6 separate regions of the Homo sapiens genome follow, and all the other regions are linked to region 2. The links are contacts of gene promoters, found by promoter capture Hi-C in blood cells and fetal thymus (Javierre and others, 2016). All regions are on one chromosome and are shown on one strand. The core of a region is centred on a gene start or on the middle of the fragment in contact, and the rest is flanking DNA. Distances in the headings are between cores, read along the strand shown.

Region 1 (3,431 bases), core at 93-2,592, 4.6 Mb after region 2:
AAAATAAAAACAAAGATAACCTGTAAAAATATAACAAATCTTCACTATGCATATTACAACACTTTGGAACCAACAGTACCGATCTCCTGAACAGAACTGCTGTAATAAAGCTTCATATTCACCAGGTCCGTATTAAACATCTCTTCCTTTTGAAGATCCGTCTGCTATGATTAAGATCCAGCAATCCACCCCTTTGGCAGTGATTTTGGATATGAGGACATGAGACTGAAACCCCGAGTTCCTAAGTTGGTTTTACCTGACAAGAGGAACTGACAGTGATGCTGGCGGGAAAACCCTATGAGCGAAGTTTCCTCCATCCTGGCTCCCCTCCCCCTTCTTCCCACCTTCACGAAAATTAATAATCCACAAAAGAACTATGTATCAGCCAAGAGCGCAAAAGTTCATCATTCCACCTGAATGCAGCAAGGCCCACGCGCACCTGCGGGCAGAGAGGAGGCTGCCGGGTCCCCGAGTGGGCAGCAGCTTGGGCCCCAGCGAGCAAGGCGGCCTAGCGCCGCAGGATGGCAAGCGAATAGGCCCGGCGCCCGGTCTCCCGGCCTAGAGCAACTCCCTTCTCCACAATGGTGGGTGGTTTAGCCCCTTCGCGCTACCTGAGACGCAAGAATCGCCTCCTGGTGGGGCAGGGAAGGATGTGGGGGCGCTGAGACAAGCAAACGGGGCCTAGAGACCGCGGCGGGCAACTGCCTAGGAGAAAGAATGGGGGGAGGGGGTTGCAAGAGGGGAGAGGAAAGGGGCTCCGCAGGGATCGGGAGGCCAGCGGACCGGTGGGCTGGAGACTTCGGGGCAGAGAAGCTACCGGCTACGGCCGAAGGGGTGGGGCAAGGCCTGCGTGACGGCCAGGGCCGCGGCTGCGAGAACCCCGAGGTGGGGTGAGGGTCGGATCTCGGCCTCACCTAAAGTCCTTGTCGCTGGATGTCATTTTTTCCAGCAAATTGGAAATGTGGTACGAGGCGCTCGCCATGTTGACGGCCTCGATCCCGCCTGCTGGCGCTGCTGGAGCTGCTGCCCGCTGCCGCTGCCGCCGCCGCCGCCGCCACTGGAGCTCCTCCTCTCGCTCGCGGCGGCTCCCGCTTCCAGGGTCGCAGCGCGACGCCGACGCTGACTAGGGAGGCGCCTCGACGGGCTGCCCCCTCCCTGGCGAGGCGTGGGCCTGTCCCGGGGTAAGCCGAGGCTACAGAGCCAGCCTAACGACGGCGCTGTTCGCGTGAGAACGAGCTCATGGGCGGCGGGGCGTACAGAAGGGCCTCTACGGGGAGCCAGACACTTCCACTCAGGGCCGTCTCGCTCCCACTCGCTCCGCACTCGCTCCCTAGGGCAAAAGGCCAAAGCCCGCCTCCTTCGCTCCGGGGGCGGGGGCGGCAGACGCGGGCGCTACGGAAAGCTAAGGTCAGAGTTCACGGAGGCCTCCCCACGCACGCTGTGGAGAAGAGAGTTAAAAAACAATTCGGTTGGCTGAAGCCTGTGTCAGTTTTCATGTGACCCGCCTTTTGGAGGCATGACAACACAAAAAAAAGGGGCTGTTCTCGCGAGACTCTAAAGCGACGGTTAAGGGACAGGGGACGAGTGGAGCAAGTGGGCCTTAATCTGAAAATAACTTGATTGTTTAATGACATTAAGAGAAAAAGATTACGAGCTTTGAGAAGGAGGAAGCCTGGGAGTAACGACAGTTAAGGAGTTAGCTTGCGGAACCAACATAAGAATTTATAACAGGGAGGTGTCGTTTGGGATCAGACGCGTGGCCTGCATTGCCGTAGCCACCGTGGTGTAATGTTGCCACGTAAAAACCACAAATCCCAGAATTCAGTCGGGTGATACACTGGCTCAGAATGTGATTGGCTGCGGGAACTAGTAGCTTCCTCATTGGCTCCCGTGGAAGGAGTGAATGCTGGGATTTGCAGTCTGATGGGGGAGCCGTGCTGGGTAAAAACCTTAGAATCGTCGCGCACTCCGTTTCTGCCGCGGATTCTTATATTCTCCAATACAGGCTTTTTCTGTTATGCAGTATTTGCAGAGCAGGCTGCTGCAGTTTGGCCAGGCGCATTGCGGATCAGTTGGTGTTCTTGCCAGAGGCCTAGCAGCAGCTTCCTAGCGCTACTACTTGCACCTCCCAAGGCAGCTGAGCCTCCCCACTTCTCTGGCCAGACACACTCCTACCGTGCATCGTAGAACCACCTCTCTGACGCCAGCAGGACCTTAGTAAGAGTAATGGGTATGCGACAGATGGCTGTAGTCAGGCCCTACTGATTTCAAAATAGCTAAAAGACTATCTCTGTAGTTAGCTTTTGTGGCCTTGATGGACCTGCAGCTGTGTATTGCTCCCTCAGACGTACAAATTCGTGGAGATGAGTTATGAAAGTATTTAGTATCCAAGTTTTTCATCTGCTTAATATTTGGGATTTTAAACACAAGTTTTGCCAGCTAGGGGTCAACATCCCTGAAAGTGTTAGGGATGGAGCTAGCTGACAGGCCTTTCTAAAAGAACAGAGAGCCTGGTGAAGAGATGAAAAATCAATCTCACTTGATACTCCTGTTAAAAACAACAACAAACCTTTAAATAGCTCTCTACTAACACATAACTCAAATCCGATCAAATCTACCTGACCTTTACCATTGTTTTCTGTATTCATCAACTATTACTGAGTACTTCAAAGTCAGGCAATAGGAGTTAATAAAACAGATGAAACTTGGTTTAGCCTCATAATATGTGTTTAAATTTCACACATACCTCTGATCTGCTCTCATGTATCCTTCTACTTGAATGTATGTAATATAAAGGCCGGGTGCGGTGGCTCATGCCTGTAACCCCACCACTTTGGGAGGCCGAGGCGGGCAGATCAGGGCATCAGGAGTTCGAGACCAGCCTGGCCAATATGGTGAAACCCCATCTCTACTAAAAATACAAAAATTAGCTGGGCATGGTGGCGCGCCTGTAGTCACAGCTACTCGGGAGGCTGACGTAGAAAAATTGCTTGAACCCAGGAGGCGGAGGTTGCAGTGAGCCGAGATCGTGCCACTGCACTCCAGCCTGGGCGACAGAGTGAGACAACGTCTTAAAATGATAATAATAATATATACGTAATATATGATATTTTTTCTCCCCAGTAATGCCATATTTCATTTTACCAATCTGCCATGATTAATATATCTTTCATCAAACTGTCCTTAGTGCTTCAGCCACAATTAATTGCCTTTTGCTCTGAATAGCCTTTCCACCATATTTAATGTAAAACACACACACACACACACACACACAAAGAAGCAGGTCTTTTTTTGTATGTGTGGACCTCAAGGCCTCAGTCATTTGGTATTATCAATAATACTTTCTTTTAGCCTGTGTCCACTCAGAAAGCAAATCATGGTTTGTCTTTTTCTGTGTGTAAATTCTTTCACTTTTGAATTTCCAGCTGAAC
Region 2 (3,548 bases), core at 252-2,751:
CAAGGATTCTTTCAAAATCAATCCAAACCTGAAAGAGGGAGATGTTTAAACGGAAGGGATCCCCTCTTGAAAAGTCCCAGCCTGGATCAGTTTAGATGGAAAATCAAACAGGATAATCTTCAAATACGCAGTAAGTCAAGCAGTATATCAGCATCCACCCTGAATATAAAAAGAAAAAAACTGACAAGACAACCAAGGAGCACGAATAATCCAAAAAAGGATGCCCACCTATCCTTTAAAAGAGCCAGTAGGTACAAGTGTGTAATTTTATGTTTTTTTAAAAAAAAATTTATATAACCCTAACAACTCCAATACAAGAAATAATGATTGGCATCTCCTCCATTCTACAGATAAAGAACGCGAAAAGACAAAAGTCACAATTGCCCAATTTTCCAAGGTCATACTTCAGATTAACAGCAAAACCAAGCCCATATTTGTCATTCAGCCGCCTAGTCTAATACTCCAAACACCAAACCACAAACGCTGTCAAATAATTCAAAATGGGGTAGGGAAAGCAACAGGGAGACATGAGTGAAACTCAAGGAACAGAGGACGCTATCTGCAATGAGTAAACAACCATTAGTGTTCGATGAGTCACTTCAGTTGATTCCAGCTGTTTATGAAATACTCCTGCACTGGGAAATACTATCGGTGGCATATCATAAAGCTGATAGCCCTAACTATGCATAAGATGTGCCCTCGGAACGCGAATAGGCACTATTCGACGAAATCTCCGCACGTAATTCTAGTTTCCAACGAAATTAGGCGTGTCACTGACCACCTCCGTAAACCAGCATGACCAATACTCCTACTGAAATGCCTAGGAAATAAATATTTGGACGCCTTCCTAGACAAGCACAGGATGGTGTAAATCTCCATTTCTCTCAGGAAACACGTCCTGCTGCTCACAACCACCAACCAACTCAGCAGCTTGGTAAAAACAGACCCAATACACTCGTTTCTTCTAAGCGCACAGCTAGCTGCCTAGCATCTATTCAGCTCCTCCCGAAGGAAGCATAAACATCTTCACCAAACTGTAGCAAAGAAGACAGAGGCAAGTCGGGTTAACGCTTCAAAGAGAGAAAAGACGCTGGAGTCAGAAGAGTAGACATAAAGAACTAGAGTCAAGAAACAGTGAATCGGGGGAAAAAAGGAACTAGAGAGCCACCTGTCCCTTAGTAAAGGTAATACGAATAAAAGCCTCTCTGCTCTGGGGCAGAAGAGCGCCGAGGCCTAGCTGGCCTTGGAGCAGTAGCCGGCTCTATAACTCCGCGGCTGAACTGGCATTCTCGGGAAACCAGCTGGTACCACCCAGTCTTCTCCTACAGACGCCACGGGTTGTCCGGACACAGAAAGTCCCTCGTGTCCCTCCCCCAACCAGCTGCCAGGGAGCAAAAGCATCCCCGTCCCAGAGAAAAGCCGAGGTCTTCCTGGAGGCCGTTACCTACCTTCCCGCTCACAACACCCGCCGCCGCCATGTTTCCTGCGCGTGCCTGGTAATGACGTAGCAGAACCTCACGTGTCTCTCGGACATACAACAACATCCGGCAAAACTAGAATAACATCCGGGCGGGAAAAGGGCGGGGAGTGGCGGGAAGGGAGTGGAGGAAAGGAGCCGGGCGGAAAAAAGCCGCCTGACGCGTGCGTGCTGAACTGGGCTCAGAGACGGCTGGGGTGGAGTCTCAGGCCTAACGCTACGCTTGTGCTTGCCCCACGTCCTCCCCAAGGAAGACTGCTAAAATAATGTGTACCTTACTTGTATTGGAGTTTGTCGAGACTCTGAAGCTAGCGCAGGCCACGCCAGTTTGGTGAGATGAAACGAATACCATACTGGAAGCCAGCAAGATTTGTCCTGGTTTTTTGTTGTTGTTGTAGAAAAGGAGTCTCGCTCTGTCGCTCAGGCTGGAGTGCAGTGGCGCGATCTCGGCTCATTGCAGCCTCCGCCACTCGGTTCAAGCGATTCTCAAGCCTCAGCCTCCCGGGTAGCTGGGATTACAGGCGCGCGTCAAACGCCCAGCTAATTTTTAAATTTTTATTAGAGACGAGATTTCGCCAATGTTGCCCAGGCTGGTCTCGAACTCCTGACTTCAGGTGATCCGTCCGCTTCAGCCTTTGCCCAGAGAGCTGGGATTACAGGCTTGAGCCACCGCGCCCAGCCCATTAGCCTGGTTTTGTGGCAGTAGGCAAATCACCAGTGCACTCGAAACCTCAGTTTCTTATAGTAAAATCAAGATAGTGGCGTTGCGGTGAAGATCCAAGAAAGAGCAGCACTAACATGGAGATATCCCAGGCACTATACATGGAGACTTTTCCCCTCTGTATATGAGGTTTCTCTATTTGTCTGGTCACTGCCACTCACACATGACCTCCAGCAAGGTATTTCGATAGGAACTGTGATAATACCACGCCCTCATAGCTGCAGAGCCCAAGGCACATAGTTTATAGCACCTACACATTACTTATTAGCTCTGTGACTTAAAGCAGGTTTCTAAATTTATCAGAGCTTCAGGATGTAAACTGGGAATTACTCCTGCATGGAGTGGTTGTAGGGATTTCATACGACAATACATGTGTGGTAAAATGATTTGTAAAGATACTAAGGTAAGAATTTTACTTGTTCTCAGTGCTGTAAAAGAATGCAGAGAATGATTATATACTACCCCCTTGATAACTCTGGCACAGATCTGGGATTTCCCTAGCTCCGGGGCAGAATAAAAAGTCCCTTTCACCAAAAACACTTGTGTCCATTGAGGTACTTCCGTCTTCACACAGTGGAGAGGGGTTAGAGGCTTTTGAGTTTGGTTGAGGTAGGTGGCAACTAGCTGAACGACAGAAAAGGAGAGTTGCCGGTTATGTGACTACCAGGAACCTAATAGGTGAGGAAAGTGGTGGAACCTTAGGTGGGAATGAATGCGTAGCATATTAGGGAGATTGCGTGCTAGGTATCTGAGATTCCAACCATGACCAAGACCCTTATGCCCAAGCTTGGCAGGGAATCAAGAAAGCAGCTCACCTACAAGGGATGAATGAGGTGGGAAAATGAGAATATTAGCAGTAATCAGCATTGAGTGAAGACTAGAGGGCCTTTTCCAAATGTACTGGACTGAGACTAAGACCCCTAGAACCTTCATATAATCTTGGGTGTGGAGTGGAAAATCCTACTGATGACCCAAATTACATTTTCCACCAGCTCAGAGCATTGGGATGTGGTTAGAGAAAAATTTTAATGTGACATCACATTTCTTACACCCTGTGTTTTAGAGAAAATTTGAAGCCCTTAGCACAGTGCCAGGAATAAAAGGCTCAATAAATGTAGTTATTACTTATATTTTAAAATATAAGTTTGAGAACTACAGGCTTCTCATTGAAAAGCATCATTGGCATCTCAGGTTCATCTGCTACTTCTTGACCTTCTTAAATTTCATCCTACAAGTGTGCCTTAAATAATGGCGCTACCCATGGGCTGGCCTTGGGCCTCTCTTCCTTTTTCTCCAAACACTATTCCTGGGCCGTTATCCTCATATTCTGGCATCAAAATCTCCTATGTA
Region 3 (3,392 bases), core at 208-2,707, 4.2 Mb before region 2:
TGGACATGTATCTTATGTCATGAGCAAAAGAGGCAAATTGGTTGCTTAGATGTAGAATGTTAAATTGTGATGAGAGCTATAAAGGAAGGAAAGGGTAAAGGGGTCAAAGAGTAATACAGCGTTTACACAAAGGAACCTGTTATAATTTGATGATTTTAAGTTCCATTTCAAACTAGTTTCATCTAAATAAGTTTTTGGGCAGAATAGGGGTTAGAAGGAGAGAGTTGTTACTTTACACCTATCCATATGTAAGTCGTTTAGCACAATGACTACAGAACATTAGAGTACATTAGTGGGCTTGCCATAGAAAATGGCTTCTATACCTTTGGTTACCAACTCTGCCTTTTACTTCCTGCATATTTGTATATATTTTTACTTATTCAGAAGTTTTGTACATTTTAATTTTTATTGGGAAACAGGGTTATATATATTTTTTCCTTGTGGAGACAGGCTCTTGCTGTGTTGCCCTGGCTGGTCTTAAATGCCTCACCTCAAGCGATTTTGCCTTGGCCTCCCAAAGTGCTGAGTGTATGGGTGTGAGCCACCACACCTGTCTAGAGTTATAATTTCAGTCTTGGAATTATTTTCTAAAGAGGGTACAGAAGAGCATAACAGGGATAAATAATGTAATAGGCAACACTGATTGATTATTCAGGCATTGTTTTAAATTCTGTGTGTATTATTAGCTCATTTAATTTACTTAGAGACAGGTAGCATCAACATTTTAACAAGGAAAAAAAATAGGTGTGGAGTGGTTAGATAACCCGTCCGTGGTTACGTACGTGAGCAGTGATAACTTATGATGAGATAATTTTTATCCTGGTTTTGAAAGAATGTTGACTTACACTGTTCTGCTATAAATCAGCATGAATATTAGTTCATTTTCTGTTGCTTAGAATACCTGAAACTGAGTAATTTATTTAAAAAAAAAGAATTTATTTCTTGCAGTTATAGAGGCTGAGAAATCCAAGATCGAGGGGACCCATGTGGTGAGAACCTTACTTGTGGAGACTCTGAAGGTTCCCAAGGCAGTACAGGGTATCACATGGGGAGGGGGCTGAGTGTGCTAACTGGGTAGCTTGGCTCTCCAGCTCCCCTGGTGGGAAACTGGGTAATTTATAAAGAAATACATTAATCCATGAATGGATTAATTCGTTTGTGAGGGTGGAGCCCTCATGATCCAATCACTTCTTAAAGACCCCCATCTCTCAGTGCTGCCACATAGGGGATTAAATTTCAACTTGAGTTTTAGAGGGGACAAATACTCAAACCATAGCAGCATGAAATTCAAAAGCACTCCACCTTGTATCCCACTGTGCTCTAGGGAAAAGCTGTATAGCAGTTATGGTCATGAAGTCTTCTTCCAGCATAGAATTTGTTTACATACACAGTCATGCATGGTTAATGATGGGGATGTGTTCTGGGGGAAATGCATCATTAAGCCATTTCATCCTTTTGTGAATGTCATAGAATGTATTTACACAAACCTAGATGGTACGGCCTAGTACATACCTGGGTTATATGGTATAGCCTGTTTGTTGTTCCTAGGCTACAAACCTGTATAGCATGTTGCTATGTTGAATACTGTAGGCAGTTTTAACTTTTTTAAAAATAAGTTGGAGTGTACTCTAACCACAAAAAGCATAGTATAGTAAATACATAAACCAATAAATCATTTATTGTCCTTATCAAGTATTATGTACTGTAAATAATTGTAAGTGCCATACTTTTATATGACTCTGCAGTAGGTTTGTTTATACCAGCATCACCACAAACATGAATAATGAATTGAGCTGTGACATTACTAGGCAATAGGAATGTTTCAGCTCCATTATAATCTTGTGGGATCACTGTTGTATATGCAGTCCTGTGTTGACTGAAACGTTATGTGACTGCAGTTGGGTAATGGTTTCTTAGCCTTATGTCAGCTCTATGTATCCAATTAGTTCAGTCAGTTGCCTCCCCTCTTCAGTGGAAGATTTTGTTTTTAGTTCAGTTTAGGAAGGAAGATTTCCTTTCAGGAGGCCAGGTGTGGTGGCTCACACCTGTAATCAATCACAGCACTTTGTGAGGCCAAGGCGGGAGCCCAGAATTTCCAGACCAGTCTAGGCGACATAGTGAGACACCCTGTCTTTACAAAAAAAATTAAAACAATATAGCTGAGTGTGGTGGAGAATGCATACCTGTAGTCCCAGCTACTCAGGAGGCTGAGGTGAGAGGATCACTTGAGCCTGTGAGGTCAAGGCTGCAGTGAGCTGTGATCACGCCACTGCACTATAGCCTGGGCAATAGAGCAAAGCCTTGTCTCCAAAAAAAAAAAAAAAATGCCTTCAAGCATGTTTTTAGGGTCAGTTATGTCTTTTGAGATCTTATACACACCATATATGTATGAACCTTTTATTATAAAGTGACCTTTTTATCTTAATGTTTTTCCTTGAAGTCTATTTTTTCCTGACATTAATACGTGATACCAACTCTGATTAGTGTTTTATTCTGAAACTGTCTTTTACATTACAGATTTTTTTTTAAGGAGGTATGTTGAAGTGCAGTGGCACGATCATAGCTCACTGTAACCTCAAACTCCTGGGTTCAAGTGATCTTCCTGCCTCAGTCTCCCGAGTAGCTAGGACTACAGCAGGCATGTTAATTTTTTGTAGAGATGATCTGTGTTGCCCAGGCTGGCCTTGAACTCCTGGCCTCAAGCGATCCTCCTGCCCCAGCCTTCCAAAGTGCTGAGACTATAGACGTGAGCTACCGCACATGGCCTCACCTTCATTCTTAAAAGATGTTTTGGTTGGGGATAGTATTTTAAGAGCCTTAGTTATTTTCAACATATTGAGGATTCTGTTGTCTTTTAGTGTCTTATTGAAGAGAAGACAGCTGTCAGTCTTTTTGTGCCTTTGAAGTTAATCTACCTTTTTTGTGTGTGCTTTTGAGATGAATTTGTTTTTGCTATCTTGCCTTTTTACTGATGTATCCGGAGCTGGATAAATATATGTGTGTGTGTGTGTGTGTATATATATATATGGATTCTTTATTTTATGGTTTTGATTTGTAGGGCTACTTGAATCTGTGGATTGGTGTCTTTCATCACTTAAGGAAATGGAAAATTATTGCGTATTAACTTCTTCAAATATTCTGTCCTCCTGCTCCCAGAACTTGTATGAAGTCTTTATTAGGCTTCATTGGATCTTAACATGTCTTTTCATTTCAGTATTTTCAGTCCTTTAGATTCTGTGGCTCTGCCATATTTTCAAAGTTTTCTTCTAGGCTTCATTTCAGCTCACTTAATTCTCTCTTCAGCTGTGTATCTTACTCTTAAGCCAGCCCATTTAGTTTGATTCATTAGTTTTATTTCTAGAAGTTCTAGTTTTCCAAATTTTGTTATATCA
Region 4 (3,727 bases), core at 979-3,478, 4.9 Mb before region 2:
AGAAAATGCAGAAAGACCTCAGCCATGTAGTACAAGCTTAAGGTCCATCCAAAGTATTAAAATAATCAGACCTTGTGCTTCTTGGGTAAAAAGGAACGGTATATATTATGTATGCCAATTCCCACTATCAATGATGAGGAGGTTGACTTTCTAGTAATATCCTATCTATCGAATGGCAACCTGAAGATCGGTAGCTAAATTTCAAGCCTATACTGGCCATTCTACTACACCAAATAATCTGGATTTGTTGCCAGTTAAAATTATTCTTAAAGTAGCAAACAACAGTACTATATTACAAAGCAAAGGTTTATGAAGAACAGTATGCTAAAATACGTAAGATAGGCCTGGCATGGTGGCTCATGCCTGTAATCCCAGCACTTTAAGTAGCTAAGGTGAGAGGACCACTTGAGTTCAAGAGTTCAAGACCAGCCTAGACAACATAGGGAGACCTCTTCTTCTACAAATAATAAAAAAATCAGCCGGGTATGGTGGCGCGAGCCTGTGGTCACAGCTACTCAGGAGGCTGAGGGGAGAGGATCACTTGAGCCCTGGAGGTAGAGGCTGCAGTGAGCTGTCATCGTGTCAGTGCACTCCTGCCTGGGGGACAGGGAGAAACCCCGTCTCAAAAAAATAAACTGGATAAACACTTAAGTGTTTGAAATACTTTCACGAATACTTTCACAGGAACAGATGAATAGAAATCACTTAGCAACATTTTCAAGGCAACATCTGAAAACTACTTTGTCTATTTCCTGACGTATGTTAGGGCCTAAGTGAACCAAAAGAGATGTCTACAATGCCAGTTCTGAAAATGTTACCACTTTGGTCAGACAAGTGTTTAGTCTTACTGTATAGTTCTGTTTATCAGAAACCCAGAGTAGCCTTTTCTACTGAGACTGGCACAGGTATATATTCCGAAGGAACTGTCCCATGTGTTTTTGATAAACCAAAGTGACGAATGAGAGGGTGGTTGAGTGTTAACATGCAACATAAAAGGATGGTTGTCATTATTCACTTTTTAACAAAAACTAGTGGCATGGTACAAACCCAAATCCAGAAAAAAACAGAATCACTCCATTGCAAAGTAACCAGGTAGAGACTTCCATGTTTGTTCATCCTACAACACGACTGTCATCTTTTAACCTCATGAAAACTACCCGAGTTCTTCAGCAAACTGTGCCGCTGCCGCATACAGACATCACTGTGGATCACTAAAAATCAGAATGCATCAAGAATTGCTTCCAAGCCTTAACTAGCACTAGCTCAGCTACAAACTCGGAGGTAAACAAGCACAGACTGACTGACTGTGGAGCGGGGCACTGTTTACTTACATGGGAAGACACTCATGTTGTGATGGGAAACGTGTTGCACTGTCCACCCCTAGCTCCTAGAAAAACGGTACTTTGACAAGCTAATGTGAGTGTAAGTCTATTCCCAAAAGTTTTTACCTCTCTTCTTAATCGCTTAAGGACAAATGCTCAAAAAAGGACGCCCGACACAAGGTGCCCGAGGTGCTACCCATGGCATTACCTGGAAGGACATCACTATGCCCATGAAACTGTCCCCTCACAGTGGACTAAAAGGAAGCAATAGATACCGTCATTCACCCTGGCGAAGGAAAAAGAAATCAAAACCAGACGCGCTTCCACCTGGCCCCAAGAGGCTTGGAGCAAGACTAGGGTCTAAGCTGCGGTTCAAAAACCACACCAGGCCCCTCCGCCTCTGCTCTCAAACGCAGCGCGGCGACACAGCAGAACCATCAACACCTCCACCTCTGTCCTCCAGGCACAGCCAGGGACTGCGTCCCAGAGCCCGCCCCGGTCGGGCCCGCCCCGCTATCTCCTCCCCCGTTATCCGCTCGCAGCCGCGCTCAGGCCTGGATTCGCCTCCCCACCCTCCCCAACTTCGGCACGTCCCACTACCCCACACACGTCGGCCGCCGCCCTCGGCGAGTCCGGGGAAGAAAGGCTGGAGGGCCGCAGGGCAAGGAATCCACTCAGCACGGTTCCTCACCTCTGGGTGGAGAAGGGGCACACAGCCCGCTTCGGTATCGTACTCATCCGGGCCGTCCGCCATCTTGGTGTTAAATCCCTCCTCCCGCTGCATGCTGGGAGAAAGCGTTTCACCCTCCCGGGGCTCGGGCGAGGCGGAGGGCGAGCGCGGGGCGAGCGCGAGCCCCGCCGGAGGCGACGCGGGCCTCCTCCTCCTTCTTCTCCTGCCCCCGTGACGCCCCCTCTGTCCCCTCCCCCCTCGGAGGGCGCGGGTTTCTCCGCGCGTGCGCGGAAGCGCGGCCCGGCCCCAGACTGGATCGCGCTCTGCTGCACTGCGCTGGGGACGGCGGAGGGCTCTGGGCGTGGGCCCCGCGGCTCGGGGGCGGGTCCCGGCTGGAGGTAGATGTGAAGCTCTGGCTGCCCGGGGGAGGCGGCCGGGCGGTTGAGACAGTCGCTTGGGAAACCTAGCAGCTGCTCAGGAGCGAGAACAGAGCTCCGGAGCCGCACGCAGCACAAGTCTGGAGCCCCAGGCAGCCGAGGAGCCCACGCCCACGCGCTCCCACTTCCGCTCCGGGACCCCCGGGACCCCTCTTCAGGAACTCGGGCAGAGTCGTCAGCCAGCTCCAGGGAGGTTTGGGCCCGTCAGGCTTGAGTCGAGACCTGCATCATTCCTGAAGACAAAAGCAGCTTCCCTTTCCTCCACACTTGAAAAGGTCACCCGCAACCTGTCCCTCCGGGGGACGCCCGGAAAAACATGGATACAACTCGGGACTTCCTACTAGAGAACCCTTTTTTTTTTTTTTTTTTTTTTTTTTTTTTTTTTAATGAGACAGAGTTTTGCTCTTGCCGCCCAGGCGGGAGTGCAATGGCGCGATCTCAGCTCACTGCAACCTCTGCCTCCCGGTTCAAGCGATTCTCCTGCCTCAGCCTCCCGAGTAGCTGGAATTACAGGTGCACGCCACCACGCCCGGCTAATTTTTGTATTTTTAGTAGAGACGGGTTTTCACCATGTTGGCCAGGCTAGTCTCGAACTCCTGACCTTAAGCGATCCGCCCGCCTCGGCCTCCCAAAGTGCTGGGATTACAGGCTTGAGTCACCACACCCTGCCGAGAACTCTTTTTAAAATGATCCCAACCTGCTCTCAATCGTCTTGAATTAGTACCACACAAAAAATTTACGAGCTCAAAGCCCACACACCGCCATCTGCAACATTTCGATATAATCCAGGAATTCAGAACTGAAGCCACTTAAACTGAATTCGCTTAAATGCAAGGCAGATAAAATGACTAAAGCCATTTTTTAAAGGATTTTAGGGCGGTATGGGGGAGGTGCTCCCTGTAAATGGGCTGATGGGACAGTTTTAGATAGCATTTGTCTTTCCTTTTAGCTGTTAAAAATTGTAAGTCTAAACAGCTGAGAATTTAGCAGAGATCATGAAAGTTGACCTATTAGAGATCCTGGTACTTACTAATCTGTCTCCTGTTAGGCCAGAAACCACCAGGAAAAAGCCTGTACTCCGATAACGTCAGGCCAATTTGTAAATCAGGAGGGAGGGCACTCCAAAGGAAGCTTGGAATGCCACTGGAAAAGGAAAGAGGAAGCCTCCTTTGTAAGATTAGTTTCCCGCCAAAGGAGTCTGAGGAGGGTCTAAGGAGAGCCAGAATCAGTTCTGCATGGGACGCCGTTTCCGTGGCGGCATGAAGAAAAGCTGGGATTTACGAGGGATTGGATGCTGT
Region 5 (3,795 bases), core at 64-2,563, 4.7 Mb before region 2:
TTGCGCCTCTGCACTCCAGTCTGGGAGACAGAGTGAGACCCTGTCTCAAAAAAAAAAGGAAAAAGATGTGGCTTAAAGGTGCCTTACATATCAGCGGTATGGCATAGTTTCATTGGCAGCCTTTGTTTTCTTTCTTGGGTAACATAAAACAATGTAAGTCTATGATTTTTTTAGAGCTGCTATGAAATATATTAATAATAATTATATAGGCCAAACTCTATTGCTTATTCATTTCAATGTATCCAGCTTATCAGAATGCCTTCTGATTTCTTGTTAAGAAAATGTAATGAGATGAGAATAGCTTAAGAAAAAAATCCTTAGTTCTGGGCTACAAGGGAAAATGAGTTATGACCCCAATTTAATTATTACAGAAAGCTTTCTCATTTGCCTTCATTGTGATCAGGGTTTGAGTATGATCTTTATTCTACCTCCCTTACTTCTGTATAGTTAGGATTTCATTAGGCGGCTAGAGGGTTCTTCGGATCATGGCTAAAAAAGAAAGCAAAAGGTTAAGTCCTAGAGTTAAGGAATTAGGAAAAAAAAATTAAGGCATTAGAAAAAAAATCAAGAATTAGGCTTTATTTTAAAAAATGGAACAAACTGTCAAATTCCTGCGTACCCGTTTAAACTGTCACCAACCTAACACACTGTAAAACTTAATGACTGTAAAACTGGCAGCAGGATCCTGAACATAACAAGGAACAAAAATAAGTTTGCTAGGCTGTTTTCATCCCAGCATGATTGAAATACACCGTTTCCTCAAAAAAAAAAAAACCTCTAATGAGGAAAGCAGTAAATTAAATGCCACGGTTAATGTGCCACTAGAAATAGGAACAAGTAGTTTAGTTACCGAATGCTTCTTAGGCCATACACTCTACACCACGATGCGTTCTTTTTTCTGTTTCGCTAAAGCTTTCACCAAGCCTAAGGCTGGAGAGGGGTCCTAACTGAGCCCTGACCAGACCAGGGAGCCCTACTGTGCAATCTCCTCAGGTTAGGAAGGGCCCAGTATGACCGGCCCAGAAGGCCTGGCCGATCAACAGGCGCTGGGCCGACGGTGGTGGGCTCGCTTCCTGAGGCTGCCCTTGGGCATGCGGAAGGGGACTGGCTGGCGATAACACCCTGGCGAAGCAAGGTGGACAGTGACTCCCGCCCGGTTCGAGCCCGCCTAGCAGGGGAAGCAACTCCACCACCGCCTCCGCGCACCGTCACGTGACGGGAAGAGGGCGTGGCCGAAGCCCGTGATCCGGGGGGCGGGCGGGGCAGGGGGAGGGCACTAGAATGTGAAGGATCTTCGCGGTTCTGGGTGCCCAGAAAGGCGGCGACGCGGCGGATGACAACATTAGGCCGCGACGCGCTCCTGGCCAGGCGGCGGCTGTAGTGTTAGCTTTGGACGCCGCAGTAGCCGCTGCCGGTAGCAAGCCGACTGAGGGAAGGTGGGGGTCCGCCCGGGCTGGTGGACCTCGGGGCCGAAAGTTCCCGCCCCGCTCGGGGGCTGAGCCGGCAGTGCCTCCGCGGCCGCTGGGCAGCGCCCTTCGTCCAGGCTCGCGCCCCAGCTGCCGCCGACGACAGCGGCCGAGAGAAGTTGGGGTCTGACTAGACGCTTACGGGGCCTCGGACCCCGGCGCCGCGGCGACCTCGGAGGAACCGGCTCCTTGCGTCCCGCCTCCCTGGGAGCTCCGCACGGGTGAGTGTTGCTCCATTCCTGAGGTTGGGGTGCTGGGTTCGCACCCCTCAGGGCGACTGCGCACCCTTATTGCCACGTTCTGAGCTCGGGCTGTCGGGGACTCCTGGCCACCCCCGCCGAGGAGTTCTTTGGCTCCTTTGTTCCCTTTTGGAGTAGGGGGATTGGAAAGGCTGGCAGGGTGGAGTGTTTAGGGGCCCACAGTAGGTGCATCTGCAGCCTTACAAAAGCCGCGGCAGGGGAACGGGGGTGGGAGGCTGTTGGAGCATTTCGACCGCCCCGGGTGTCTGTCCCTCCTGAAGTTTGATAGGTTGATGGCATGGGCCTCGTTGGGAGCCCCCGCGCCCAGGAGAGCTGGCGCTTTGTCGCTCGGTGCGGTTAAGGCGAGGCTCCTTCTTTCCTGTGACAGCCCCAGAGAAGGCTGTGCCGCGCACCGCAGACCGCACCCGCCTTTGCAGAGCCAAGCGACACGGTGTTGTTCCTCTAAGCCTCAGTTCTCCCGGCCTTCTTGTAACGTAGGAGGAAAGCCAAGCCTTTGCTGTGCTTTTAAATTTAATGTTTGTTTCTAAGCCCTCTCTCAAGAGTGGAATCAGGTTCCAAGGAGCTTCACAGGCAGCATGCTTTAGGTTCATTGAACCACCCACTCAAGACTGGCTGAGGCGAAGCAACAGTATATGCAGATTTTCCATTCACAAAAGTCATTTAACACTCTTCTTTATGAGACACATCTGCGTTGCAGAACGTAACCTAATTTCATTTTATTTAAATGCTTTCTGAAATAATAGGTAACTTGGACAACGTAAACAGATGGGTAAACTTTAACTGATAATGTAAGTATATATGCATTAAATAAAAAATTTAATGATGTTTTTGCCTTTCTGCTGCTAGAAGACTTAAATGACGTCTGAGTAGTAATACAGTGTCTCCTGCATGGCAGTTAAGTTTTTCCCAAAATTAGTGCTGCTTTTGAAATAATCCTTTAAAACAGTTTTTGCCTCCCTTCGTATCTAGAGAGAGCAAGAATTGTGGAGAATCGTGGGTGAATTGATTGTTAAATTTTGCTAATTTCCTAGAGTTTCATCTAAACTTGATTTTGCTGAGAGGCTATGATCAGTTTCTATGCTTGCTAGAACCTGTTTTGCAGTGAAATTATTAAGATCATGCTAGTTTTATAAAATAGGTTGGAATAGGAAAAGTAAGGCCATGCAATTTAAAACTGTTCTCTATAAAAGTACAACTAATTTCAAATGTTTGTTACTTTTATTTTTTTTTAATATTAACCGTGTATGGAGTGACTATAATATACCTGCTCAAAGGGCTGAGAAAGGAAATAGATGAAACTTAAGCTACCTTTTGGGTCTTTAATTATGGACATCAAGTTATTGCGGTCACATTCCATGTCAACCGTTTGAACAGCAATACCGTGTACACAGGTGCTTAGAAATGCCTGTTTAATTAAAAATGGCCATGGTTTATTTCTCTTTGATTGAATCATAATAGTTATTGAATCTCTGATCTGTGGAAAGATGCTACTGTATTTTCCTTAGAATGTTACTGCATTTTAAAGACAGTCAAATATGTTTTTTATAACACATTCAGGGTACTTATACATTTGTCAATATTCAGTTCCTTGGTTCATTTAAAAATTGGAAGCCTTAGAAAACACTTTGGGGATAAATTTACAATTGTGTATAATGAATTTATGTTTTAGTTTGCTTTAAGAAAAATGATGAAATTATGAATTTGTAAAATATGCATTACAAAAGGATTTTTTTTTTTTTTTTTTTTAAGACTGTCTCACTCTGTATCCCAGGCTGGAGTGCAGTGGTGCAACTTGGCTCACTGCAGCTTCTGCCACCTGGGTTCAAGAGATTCTTATGCTTCAGCCTCCTGAGTAGCTGGGATTACAGGTGCGTGCCACCATGCCAGGCTAATTTTTGTATTTTTATTAGAGATGGGGTTTCACCATGTTGGCCAGGCTGGTCTCCAACTCCTGGCCTCAAGATCCGCCCGCCTCAGCCTCCCAAAGTGCTGGGATTACAGTCATGAGCCACTGTGTCTGGCGGATCTTTTGTTTAAAAGTATGAATTGCAGAATTTTAACCAGTGTTA
Region 6 (3,527 bases), core at 239-2,738, 3.7 Mb before region 2:
CCTGCAAGGGACCTTATAAAACATGAGCAATGGAACACTTTTTTCCAAACTAAATTTCGTGCAGTGGAACTTGGCCGACTCTGTCCTTCCTCTATTCTAAGCACCCTACTCTAGCCCGGCTGCTCTGAGTTCAGTTTGTTACAAATATGGACACGAAAGTACCACAGGCTTTGCACAGCTTAATTGAAGTTTCCCCTTCACACCATGGTAAAAAAACATACTGGGATGGAAGGGTTTGTGTCTAGAACAAGAACAAGAAATAAACTCTTGGTCACTTACTAATATTTCAAAATCACAAAGCAGAATTTTGCTTGGATGTTTAGTAAAACATCCTTGGAAATTTAACTGCTTGCAGCTTCTACACTTCTTCATTAAATGCTGTCTGGCTAATAAAAAGTGCCATGTTGCAGCTTTATTTTATTTTCATTTTTTGGAGATAGACCCTCACTGTGTCACCCAGGCTGGAGTGCAGTGGTACAATCTCTGCTCACTGCAACCTCCACCTCCTGGGCTCAAGTGATTGTCCTGCCTCAGCCTCCTGAGTAGCTGGGGTTACGGGCGTCCACCACCACACCCAGCTAGTTTTTGTATTTTTAGTAGAGGGGGTTTTTGCCATGTTGGCCAGGCTGGGCATGGTGGCATGGTAATCTCAGCTACTTGGGAGGCTGAGGCAGGAGGATCGCCTGAACCCGTGAGATGGAGGTTGCAGTGAGCTGAGATCACACCACTGCACTCTAGCATGGGTGACAGAGCAAGACTCTGTCTCAAAAAAAAAAAACAAAAAAAAAAACGAAAACAGAATTCTGTTTGTTTGGATGACCTGTTATACTTATTTTTGATCTTGCTGAAATAAGCAAATCTTAGGAATCTTAGTCTACAGTTTCTGACAGTTTTTTTTGTTGTTGTTGTTTGACCAATTAGAACTAAATAAAAAGAACGTGATTTTCACATTTAAATTTCTCTTAAATGTATTCCTAGAACAGTAAGCCATTGGTTTAATTGCTACTTGATGCCAGTTTCCTTGAAGATAGCCGTTAAGATAAAACATGGTTTCATTGTTAATTCTGTAGAAAGTTACATGTTACTATTATGTTATTCTATTGGTGTATTGTTCCTTTTACTCACCACAGAGATTGTCCAAACACTTGTCATTATTGGGGCAGGCACTGCAGGTGGCTCCTCTCTTATATGGCCAAGTTGGGTAATTCCCTCTGTAAAGCAGAAGAAGGATGTCCATTAGAAGTTTTTCGGTTTTTTAAAATTGCAATTTACTATGAATCCTTAACTAAATCCAGAAGAATAGTGGAGTGAAGTACAAAGGTCCAGAGAGTTGGTAATAGAAGTGAAGACAGGAAGGCAGAAATGGAAGGCTGCTAATATTTGCATAGTTCATTCTATGTACCTGTGTCTATGCACCTGTTTTAATCTGCATCCCATTTAATTGTGACAGCTCTGAGAGGAAGTTATTCTTGTTTTACAGATGAGACAAAAGATGTAAGAGATACCTTTAATCACAATTTATACACTTCAGAGTCAGAGGAAACCTGGATTTAACTCCAGGGCTGTGCTCCCTCTCTTTACCTACCCTCTGGCCTATATGATTACTGCCATTTAAAAAACTGTCCATCTTAGAAAAGCTATGGTGACCCACATTCAATATTCTCAGTTGGTCAGCCCTCCATAATTTTCACTGGATAGGAGCCATTTGGCTGGTGCCTTCCAAAAAAATAATAAATAATGGTATGGGGGAATTTCTAAAGTACAAATTGTTTTCACATACAAGATGTGATATGAATAATAGCTGCTAATTAGTGAGCACTACCATGTGCTTGTCTTTGTTCTAAACAACCTTGAATGAAATAATCTTCACAAAAACCCTATGAGGAAGTTACTGTTGTCTATTTATACCCATTATATAGCTAGAGGCTGAGTCACAGAGTATAAGTAATTGACCAAGGTCACAGACTAGAAAGTGAAATAATATCCAAGCATTTTATATCCCCATAAATATCCTCATAGTAGTAATGGGGAGAGGGGGCACATTTATCTCAATGAACCTGCCATTGCACTAATTTTTTTTGGAACTCTGCTTTTGGAAAAAGTTCTAAACTTTTTTGTGTAATCGTACCCTTTGGCAGTCTGGTGAGGCCTATGGGCTCTTTCTCAACATAGTTTGTTGTTAAATGCATAAAATACATAGGATTATAAAGGAAACCAATTAAATTGAAATAGTTATCAAAATGTTTAAAACAAGATTTGTGATAAAGTAATATGTGCTTCTCTATTAAGATCTACCGGGGGCTATTAGTTTCAATGCAGTGATGAACACAAACTATATTTTGAGTTCTCTGCAGCAAGTGGAATGTGGTATGAAAATATCTGATATTTACAAAGATGATACTGCTAAGTCAGAGTCACGTTTATTGCTAATATGATGGTGGAGTGTTGTCTTCATTCATAATGAAAGGAAATGTTATTTTTAATAGAGGTTAGTGAAAATAAAAATAAAACTATTTTCTAATCAAAGTTTATGGTCCTCCTCTCCCCAGCACTCTACAATTACCTCCAAAGTTGAGAACTCTCACCTTAGACACACAACTTTATAACGATACCTTATTTCCAACCCCAAATCTATGTTCTTATCTCATTTTGCTCCAAATTTTAAGTTGCTTCAGAAATTTAATTAGCCCTCTGCTTACTCTACACCATGGAAAAAAGGTAATATAGTAGAAATTCTGATAGCAATTTCAAAAGATGTCCAAAATAGACATTAATCATTGGAATGTCTTTCATTGTTAATAAGCACAGTATTAAGTGGTTTAAGTTCTAGAATGATTTTAATAAAGTCATTTATGATACTTAGTTGTGCATTCCAAACTGTAAAGGAAAAGGTAAAAAATGCTACTTAAAAATAAGCTAAAAACCAAGACAGTCGGTGAGGTCTGTGGAAATGGTAGTATTCATCTTGGGAGAAACATGCTACTGGAAAGGCCTGGATTTGTCTAGATGGGAGTCATTAAGACTGTGGGACCTAAAGTATTCAGCACAATAAAGCAACAGGACATTTCAATGTTTTCCCTGGTAGCCTGAGAGAGAAGAGGGTTGGGGTTATGGGACCCAGGGGAAGACCGAAGACAAATCTTTAAAGAAAAAGATAAATATGGGTAAGGGTCCCTAAGGCAGTGACGGCCTAAGCACACTGGTACTATCTTGACTATCTTGTGGTCAAAGTTATTTCCTCTTCTGTGCTATAATCCTCTCCTCCACTAATCCACTCTGAGTAAAGATCTGTTACACACCATACCCTTGTTCATGGTGCCCAGGGGAAATGAAGAGGAGAGTATTACAGGCAACTGGAAGATTAAGCATCCCAGACCCCATTCTGAGGTATCAGAAATATTGAGGAGGATACTGGACTTCCTAAGATTATGTGGAATGGGGGCCTACAACTTTTTGTGTATAGGAAAATAATACCTCAGAGGGCAGAGGGCAAAGGGAAATGAGGACATTCCTAACTGGTCTCTCTG

The links. The method cuts DNA at HindIII sites, captures the fragments that hold promoters and counts their contacts. A CHiCAGO score of 5 or more calls a contact.
Region 1: the fragment with the promoter of CAND1 here is called in contact with the fragment with the promoter of TBC1D15 in region 2 in 2 of 17 cell types (total CD4 T cells and monocytes); the score reaches 9.2 in total CD4 T cells.
Region 3: a fragment that was not itself captured here is called in contact with the fragment with the promoter of TBC1D15 in region 2 in 2 of 17 cell types (non-activated CD4 T cells and total CD4 T cells); the score reaches 6.5 in non-activated CD4 T cells.
Region 4: the fragment with the promoter of ZDHHC17 here is called in contact with the fragment with the promoter of TBC1D15 in region 2 in 5 of 17 cell types (total B cells, naive CD4 T cells, naive CD8 T cells and 2 more); the score reaches 12.7 in total B cells.
Region 5: a contact is called between the fragment with the promoter of OSBPL8 here and the fragment with the promoter of TBC1D15 in region 2, in 1 of 17 cell types (activated CD4 T cells). The highest score is 6.5, in activated CD4 T cells.
Region 6: a fragment that was not itself captured here is called in contact with the fragment with the promoter of TBC1D15 in region 2 in 1 of 17 cell types (activated CD4 T cells); the score reaches 6.6 in activated CD4 T cells.

The regions. Positions count from the first base shown.
Region 1 is chr12:67,267,269-67,270,699 of GRCh38, reverse strand. It overlaps CAND1 (cullin associated and neddylation dissociated 1), which reads right to left and starts at 1,342. Exons shown (of 15, transcript NM_018448.5): 1 at 915-1,342. The coding sequence starts at 982. RefSeq lists enhancers at 576-1,227, 1,507-1,766, 1,907-2,206. The HindIII fragment of the contact is 8,089 bases long and covers 113-3,431 here.
Region 2 is chr12:71,837,712-71,841,259 of GRCh38, reverse strand. It overlaps TBC1D15 (TBC1 domain family member 15), which reads right to left and starts at 1,501. Exons shown (of 17, transcript NM_001146213.3): 1 at 1,449-1,501. The coding sequence starts at 1,478. The HindIII fragment of the contact is 6,842 bases long and covers 1-2,986 here.
Region 3 is chr12:76,078,618-76,082,009 of GRCh38, reverse strand. The region is part of intron 1 of NAP1L1 (nucleosome assembly protein 1 like 1); the gene reads left to right. Among named protein-coding and RNA genes, the nearest start is that of NAP1L1, 4.4 kb to the left of the region's middle. The HindIII fragment of the contact is 4,283 bases long and covers 1-3,392 here.
Region 4 is chr12:76,762,616-76,766,342 of GRCh38, reverse strand. It overlaps ZDHHC17 (zDHHC palmitoyltransferase 17), which reads right to left and starts at 2,228. Exons shown (of 17, transcript NM_015336.4): 1 at 2,014-2,228. The coding sequence starts at 2,106. RefSeq lists enhancers at 1,881-2,030, 1,222-2,064, 2,040-2,334, 2,631-2,730 and a silencer at 2,081-2,490. The HindIII fragment of the contact is 3,524 bases long and covers 39-3,562 here.
Region 5 is chr12:76,557,289-76,561,083 of GRCh38, reverse strand. It overlaps OSBPL8 (oxysterol binding protein like 8), which reads left to right and starts at 1,313. Exons shown (of 24, transcript NM_020841.5): 1 at 1,313-1,687. LOC105369850 (a long non-coding RNA gene) reads right to left here and starts at 1,182. Exons shown (of 4, transcript NR_188081.1): 1 at 851-1,182. RefSeq lists a silencer at 1,483-1,672 and an enhancer at 2,083-2,392. The HindIII fragment of the contact is 3,809 bases long and covers 915-3,795 here.
Region 6 is chr12:75,493,261-75,496,787 of GRCh38, reverse strand. It overlaps GLIPR1 (GLI pathogenesis related 1), which reads right to left. Exons shown (of 6, transcript NM_006851.3): 4 at 1,126-1,211. KRR1 (KRR1 small subunit processome component) reads left to right here. Exons shown (of 10, transcript NM_007043.7): 10 at 1-3,527. Among named protein-coding and RNA genes, the nearest start is that of GLIPR1-AS1, 5.2 kb to the right of the region's middle. The HindIII fragment of the contact is 4,702 bases long and covers 1-3,527 here.